Linked DNA regions of Homo sapiens: region 1 is linked to region 2. The links are contacts of gene promoters, found by promoter capture Hi-C in blood cells and fetal thymus (Javierre and others, 2016). All regions are on one chromosome and are shown on one strand. The core of a region is centred on a gene start or on the middle of the fragment in contact, and the rest is flanking DNA. Distances in the headings are between cores, read along the strand shown.

Evidence for each region. Contacts are between HindIII fragments. The CHiCAGO score rates a contact against its expected background, and 5 or more counts as called.
Region 1: a contact is called between a fragment that was not itself captured here and the fragment with the promoter of NOPCHAP1 in region 2, in 1 of 17 cell types (total B cells). The highest score is 5.5, in total B cells.

What each region holds. Positions count from the first base shown.
Region 1 is chr12:104,657,100-104,660,912 of GRCh38, reverse strand. The region is part of intron 2 of CHST11 (carbohydrate sulfotransferase 11); the gene reads right to left. Among named protein-coding and RNA genes, the nearest start is that of MIR3922, 67 kb to the right of the region's middle. The HindIII fragment of the contact is 3,196 bases long and covers 876-3,813 here.
Region 2 is chr12:104,984,569-104,988,788 of GRCh38, reverse strand. NOPCHAP1 (NOP protein chaperone 1) reads right to left here and starts at 2,473. Exons shown (of 4, transcript NM_152318.3): 1 at 2,322-2,473; 2 at 536-622. The coding sequence starts at 2,436. LOC105369952 (a long non-coding RNA gene) reads left to right here and starts at 2,419. Exons shown (of 2, transcript XR_007063436.1): 1 at 2,419-2,486. RefSeq lists a silencer at 1,994-2,243 and enhancers at 1,796-2,306, 2,307-2,819. The HindIII fragment of the contact is 4,173 bases long and covers 1,568-4,220 here.

The DNA.
Region 1 (3,813 bases), core at 1,224-3,723, 330 kb after region 2:
CCCCAAATGTAAGTAGTTTAGACTAAGACCCCTTTGAACTCCAGCATCCTTTAACTATAACTCCTTCCCTGTATTGCTCCACCCAGTGGCCTCAAATCTTGGGATTGATCAAGATTGCAGGTGGAGCTAGACTCAGTTTTCATAAATGTAAGGTCAAAGAGGAATGGCAGATACGCACCCCTTTACAAGAGCTGGGTTTCGGATTTTCTTCTGAGAAGAAGGGGGTGTGAAAAAGGGCCTGGGATAGAAGGAGTACACTTCTATCTTCACAAGGCTCCTGTGAGCAGCCAAGTCCAGGAGAGGACCTCAGCCGGGATGGAAATTTCCTTCGGGTCTTTCTCTCCTGCTGTTTGCACACAGTGTTCTCTTTCACGGGCCTCCTCTGGCCTATGAAATGAGCTTTCATGTCCTCCATACAAAGTTGGTTTCTCTAATGTGCTGAAAATAGAAGAAACTACCATAGCCATGTTTTCCCTTGGGCTGAAGAGCAAGACGGTGGCTCTGCCATCAAACCCAGCCATTCAGCTGGGGGCCCACCTGCGCCAAGCCCGTGGGCAATGGCAATGCCGCAGAGACCCAGTGAGCTAAAAACCCAGCCTGTAGCCCTTTCCCTGAGCTTTGGGAACGAAAGACTTTCCTCTGGTCCTGGCGTGGTACCCAGGAGACCTTTCTGGGGCTAAGAACAGAGCATCTGTACAATCAAAACAGCATCAACAAGTATTTTCTGAGCATCTACTGTAAAGCCAGGATCTGGGCTAGGTGCTGGGATACAGCGATAAGCAAAACAGATGTGGTCCCTGGAGCGTCTCATTTCTAGTCTAGCCCAGTACAGTCCAATAGAAGTATAATGTGAGCTACATATTTAATTTTAAGCTTTCCAATAGCCACAATTTTAAGAAGTAAAAGAATGAAATTAATTCGTTTTCTTTTAGAGACAGGGTCTCACTCTGTTGCCCAGGCTGGAGTGCGGCAGTGCCATCATAGCTCACTGTAACCTCAAACTCTTGGGCTCAAGCAATCCTCCCACCTCAGCCTCCCTAGTAGCTAGGACTACAGGGGCACGCCACCATACCCAGCTAATTTTTAAAAATTATTTGTAGAGATGGTGGGGGCGGGGGGGGGTCTCACTATGTTGCCCAGGCTGGTCTCGAACTTCTGGCCTCAAGCAATCCTTCTGCCTTGGCCTCCCAAAGCACTGGAATTACAGGCATGAACCACTGTGCCTGGCCATAATTAATGTTAATAATATATCTTTATTTAACCCAACATACCTAAAACATTTTCATTTCAACATAAAATCAATATAAAAATTATTCATGAGATCATTTACATTTTTTGGTACTTATTCTTCAAAATATGGTATGTATTTAACCCTTACAGCATGTCTCAATTCACACTCGCCACATTTCAAGTGCTCAGCAGCCATTTGGAGCTCAGGGCTACCACCCTGAGCAGCACAGCTCTGCACTGTGGGGATGGAGGATCGGGGCAGTGATGGCTCTTGGAGATCCCCGGAAGCTCTTAGAGATACGGAGAAGTAATATTATCACCAACGATCATATGTCTTGAGCAATTATCATGTGCCAGCCCCTCAAGGAATCCTCCCTAAACAACCCTAAGAGACTGTCACCCCACTTTGCAGATGAGGAAAGTGAGGCACAGAGAGGCTACATCACTTGCCCAAAGTCACACAGCTAGTCAATGCAGAGTCTGTGATGCAGAACACAGAGCTGTGCTCTTATCCATGGCATCATCCCAGTTCTTGAGCACGGATCCAGACACATCACATGTTAGAACCCATTCCTCTGAGCCCCTCCAATGGTGCTCTTTTTTGATGGAGATCAAGTGAGAGAACGTTTTGGGAGCCCTTGGTAAGATGTGAAGGGCTTCAAGTGGAATATTACGCCTATTAAGTGAAGTAGAAGTGGTTTATAAAGTATCCTCTGCAGCCAGACTGCCTGGGTTCAAATCCCAGCTTCACCACTTACTAGCAGCGTGCCCTTGGGCAAGTTACTAAATCTCTCTGTGCCTCAGTTCCCTTGTTTATACAATGAGAACGGCAATAGAGCCTATTTCAAGGGTCATCATGAGGATTACATGAGTTAATAAAAATAAAATGCCTAGCACTTTGCTTGGCACCTAAGAAGCAACTACTAAGGAGTAGTTATCATTATTATGGAGCGAACAGGGTACAGATGCGGGGGTTATTGGATGAGAGAGTCTGGGAGGAGGAGAATGGAAGCAGAAGGTAGGAGAAAAGCCAATCATCAAGGCGCTAGGAAGTGCCAGAGTTACGGTCCCCAGGGCTACCTCCCCCTCTCCAGATAAACACCATGGAATGTAAGGTACACGCTGTCATGAATTAACTGTGTCTCTCCAAAATGCACATGCTGAGGTACTAACCCCCAGTCGTTCAGACAGTACCCTTATTTGGAGATAGTGTCTGCACAGAGGTGATCAAGTGAAAATGAGGTCCTTAGGGTGGGGTCCCAATCTAATGTGTCTGGTATCATGACAAGAGGGGGAAATTTGCACAGAGACACAAGGAGACTGCTGTGTGAACATGAAGGTGCATCTACCAGCCAAGGAGACAGGCCTGGGACAGCCCCTTCTCTCATGGCCTGAGAAGAAACCAACCCTGACCACACCTTGATCTTAGACTCCCAGCCTCCAGAAGTGTGAGAAAATAAATTGCTATTTAAGTCCCTCGGCCTCTGGTACTTTGTCATGGCAATGATTGCAGACGCTCATCCTGCCTCCTCTCCTCACCAAGAGGCACTGCAGGTTGGGGGCGGCATAGGGGGCTCTAAGCCAGCCCCCGCCCCAGTCCACACAGCATGCTTGTAAAACTCTGAGTATCCTTGGCTGGCTGGCCTCGGCGGGTCTGTTGCAGTGGAAAACTACCCAGGAAGGTGGGCTGCGTCCCTGAACACTGCTCACTCTGTTTCCCCTGCTACCTTCAAAATCCCCCTCCGTCAACTGAAGGGGAAATAAAGCGTGTCTTTATTCGGGTCCAGGCTGCCTTGGACACCCTGCTCCAGCTTGAGCCAAGGCAGACACAGATGCTTATTGAGCAAGGTTCTCCCTATGTTCCCGACACACCACACTGGAGCCTGGGGACCCTCAAGAATGCAAGTCCAGCCATCGGAGTCCAGAGCGTGAAGGTGGAAGAAGCTGTCTAGGTAGCCAGCGCCACCATCACCTGGGTATTCAAACACATGGGGCACTTGGAAAAGTACAGAGAAAATCCTTCCAAAATTCCAGCAATCTGAAACAACTACTGCTGATTTTCCAAGCTGTGAAATGGAACATGCATTATTTCTCCCATGCTCTTCAGAGAAAAAACATGGGAGCGGGGCTGGCCTGCAAATGATCTCGAGGGTTTTTTTTTTCATCTGCCAGGGAAGAAAGAAGTGCTGTGGCTCCCAGATCAATTCTCCATTCCCAACAAAGGCTGGGTGAGAGGCGTGATCCTGAAAGACTTATACTTCTCTCCATGAACGGCTGTTAAAGTTTCTAATCAATCATGTCTCTCACCCAGGAGAATTAGCTAAACATAGCAAGGCTTGTATTTTAAAACACAAATCGCTGACAATAACTTAAAATGTGCGTAAGTGGTCATTTAGGGTGAAGGATGTGAAAACCTTTAAGGTTTACTCTTTTTGTTTCGCTCCCAGAGATGAGAAGAAAGACATGCAAATAGTGGATTGAAGATGCTTGCTAAACCAGGAAATATGATTCCCCTTGACTGTTAGGTAACAGGAAAAACAAACTGGGATGGCAGCATGGGCTTGGGCTGACAGCCCGGAGCTG
Region 2 (4,220 bases), core at 1,224-3,723:
TTATTTACATTGTTTTTATTGAATTTTTGCCTTTTTTTAATATTAAGAGTGAATTACATAGAGGGCATTCGTGTAATAAAGTCTGAGTGTGGGACATACTTATGAATGTGCAGTACAGCAATACTACAGAATAATAAAGAGAACTGGCCATTATGCTGTATTCTAAGTAATATTTATCATTTAAATAATTGTGTCCAATTCAATGGGATGTGGTTGTGGTTTTCCATCCATATATATTAAGTTTGAGGCTCAGTAACCTCTAAATAAATTTGCCATGGAGATTAACAATTGTTTTTGACTTCCCAAAATTCAACCCACAAGCAATTTTTCACGAAAAAGTTACCCTCTTAAAGTAGAGAAATAATGTAAGAAGTTCCATTCTGTGTACTGACTTTATCATGTAAATCCCAAGTAGGACTTGTTCCACTGGACTATCTGTGGTTTGATACCTGACAATGAAGGCAGAGACCGTCCCACAGCTTAATCAGACAAAACTCAGCATTAGAGAGGGTGAGAGAGGGGAAGAGGTACTTACAGGGACTCCTCTCTATCCGAACTGTTTGAAGAGTGGAGGTCTTTCTGGACTTAGGTTGGGAGTTGATGAGCAACCTGTCCCATATACCTGAAAATACAGACACACAAACACCCTTAATTTACTACAGCATAAAAAAACAAAGGCCCATCAGTAAGCCTCTCACATGACCAGTCTTAAGACTTGACTGTCCACACTCCCCCAAAATTTTTTTTTTAAAGGAGAACTCCAAGCTCCATTACAACATTTTAATTCTTTATGTACAGCCAGCCACCTCTCCTTTCTTACATCTGTCTCATTCACCTCTATCACCAATGGCAGGTAATAAATGCACACCAATCTGCACTTTTCTGGATCAGAAATTCATTAGCAGACAAACGTGGGTCTGCAATGACAGAACGGAGGAAACAGTACAGAGCATAACAATGGTTAAGTGAAGCCAGAAATGGTTACTAGTTGTGTAACACTGGGCAACTTACCTGATCTTCAAGCATTTGTTTCTTCATTAGTAAAACATGCTTGCCTGGTATTTCCCCTTCCCTGAAGACGTTCAACCCAAGGAAAGCAGCCTTTTGGGGATTTTGTCACCCACTCTACCTTTCCAGCCTCATTTCTCACTACTCAAATCATCCCAACTCTCTATCCCATCAGAGTTCCAAGAGGGGAACGTACAAAACTCAAGGCTTTGCACACCCTATTTCTAATACCCGGAAAATCCCTTAACTCTCTGGTTAAAAAACAAATCCTGTTCACCTGCAAAGCAGAGCCGCAACAAACATCCATTGAATGCCTACTACTTAAGGCCTACTGGATTCGTGATCAGAGCACAGAGTCTGGAGCCAGACTACTTGAATTCAAGTCCCAGTTTTGCTACTTTCTAGCCACATGATCTCCAGAAGGTAAATTACCTGTATGATAAATCATGTCTCAGGTTCCTCAACTATAAAACAGAGATAACAGATTTTCTGCAAAGGGTTGTTGTGAGGATTAGATGAGTTAGTTTCTGGGGCATACATAGTAAGGACTACATAAGCTTTGGTTATCATTATTATACTTCCTTCGGAATCTCTGGGTTCTCACAAAACCTTTTCTTCAAGCTAGTATTTACTGACAACATGCCCAAGCCTTTTTAGGCATTCTCCTCCTCACAAAAATTCTACAGGCATTACTACTATCACCATTTTCCAAATGCAAAAACTGAGGCTTAGGGAATGAAAATAACTCTAAGTCCCACCAGTTAATTACTAGTGGAGCTGGGATTCGAACTCGTGCTTTTAAATTCTACCTATAGTGTCTGAAATGCTGTGTGGATTTCCTGGATGCATGTCTCCCTCTACAAGACAGCAGCACTAAGGGGTGGTCTGTGTGGGTGTGAAAGAGGTAGGGACTGTTAGCATAATATTACTCCGCTTCCCCCTATCAGCCAACTGCTCCGACCCAGGCAGCCAAACCAAAAGCCCTCCCTTCCCCAAAAGAACTCGAGAGCTTCCCAGCTTCCAGGGCAGGGCAGATGCCTGGCAGCGGCGCCTGGCAGGGTGGGCGCTCACTACCTTGCAGAATATAAGAACCACTAGCTGGGGAAACCATTCCGGGCCCGCAGCCGGGTGCCCGCCCCAAAGCCCCCACCCCTGCCGCGGGCAGGGCACGCCGGAGCCCCGCAGCAGTCCCCGGGGCTCCCCTCGAGGGTACGGAGCCCGGGCAGGGAGCCACCGGCCGGCTCCCAAACTGCACCGGCCGCGCCTCCTCTGCCGCACGTGTGCGGCCCATGCCGCCGTCACCCGTCCGTCACCTCCGCGGCCGTCGCTTCCCGCCGTCAGCAGCTCCTTGGACACTGGGACTCCTGAGGAATCCCGGGTGGGCGACGAACAACTCGGGCTAGCCTTGGGCTTGCCATGGACCTCCATGCTTCCCTCAAGCCTGCACTCTCAGGCCCGGATGCAGGAAAAAGGCTCGGGTAAGGGGGCGGGGAGAGGGCCGCGATTGGAGGAAACTGCGGTGGGCGGAGTAAGGAGCGGAGAGAGAGGCGGGGCGAGCGTGGTGCAGCCTGGAGGCTGCGCGGGAGCAGGGGCCATTCCTACTCCTGGGAAAAAGAAAGGTTCAGACACTGTCATAGGAAAAAACAGCGGGCAAGGCTCGATTTCGCCAAATTCGGGCATAAAGAGCATAACATTAGGCTTCCCTCCTCTTTATCCTTTTTTATTAAATTTTTTTTTAATTGGTGAAAAAACACGTAACAAAATCTACCATCTTAACCATTTTTAGTTGTACAATTCAGTGGTGGCAGACCTCTAGATCATTTTCATCTTGCAAAACTGAAACCTTATACCCATTTACCCCTACTCCAGTCCCTTGGTAACCACCATTCTACTTTCTTCTTTGTTTCTTTCTTTTTGAAACAGCCTTGCTCTGTCGCCCAGGCTGGTGCCTCAGCCTCCCAAGTAGCTAAGATTACAGGTGCACACTACCACGCCCGGCTAATTTTTGTATTTTTGTATAGAGACGGGTTTTCACCATGTTGGCCGGGCTGATCTTGATTTCCTGACCTCGGGAGATCCACCCACCTTGGCCTCCCAAAGTGCTGGGATTACAGGCGTGAGCCATCATGCCCAGCTACCATCGTTCTACTTTCTGTTACTATGAGCTTGACTACTTCAGATACATTATGTAGGTGGAATCATACAGTACTTGCCTTTTTGTTACTAATTTCACTTAAAATAATACCCTCAAGGTTTAGACATGTTGTAGCACATAACAGGATTCTCTTCTTTTTTAAGCCTGAATAATATGCCATTGTATGTATATACCACATTTTCTTACCATTGATCTCTCAACAGGCGTGCTGGTTGCTTCCACCTCGTGGTCATTGTGAACGCTGCTGCAATGAACATGGTGGTACAAATATCTCTTAGAGACCCTGCTTTTCAATGCTTTGGGATACATACCCAGACATGGGATTACTGGATAATAGGGTAATTCTACTTTTTAGGTTTTTGTGAAGCCTCCGTATAGTTTTTCATAGTGGCTGCACCATTTTACATTCCCACAGTGCACAAGAGTTCCAATTTCTCCACATCCTTGTCAATATTTCCTTTTTCTGTTTGGTTGCTTCTTTCTTTTTGACAGTGAGCATCCCAGTGAGTGTGAAGTGATATCTTGAAGTTTTGGTTTGCATTTCTCTAATGATTTAGTGATGCTGAACACCTTTTCATGGGCTTGTTGGCCATTTATATATCTTCTTTGGAGAAATGACTATTCAACTCCTTTACCCATTTTTTAATCTGGTTATTTGTGTTTTTGTTGTTGAGTTGTAGGAGTTATTTATATATTCTGGATATTAACCCTTTATCGGATATATGATTTACAAATATTTTCTCCCATTCTGTAGGTTGCCTTTTCACTCTATTGCTTCCTTTCCTGTTTGTTCTTTTAACAGTCTTTATTGACCACCTGCAGTATGCCCAGACCCCTCTTATATAGGATTCAAAGCAGAAGCAGCAGAAACCTTGGACCAATCTTTTCTGCTTATTTCTGACAGTGCAGAGGCTCCAGAATCAGCCTGGAGTGGATTAAATCCAGTGTCATATTATTCATTTAGTAGCTGTGACTTTGGGCAGATCACTCCCTGAGCGTCTGTCCTTCTCTGCAGAATCAGGATAATAATACTTCATGGGGATGTTATAAGGAATAA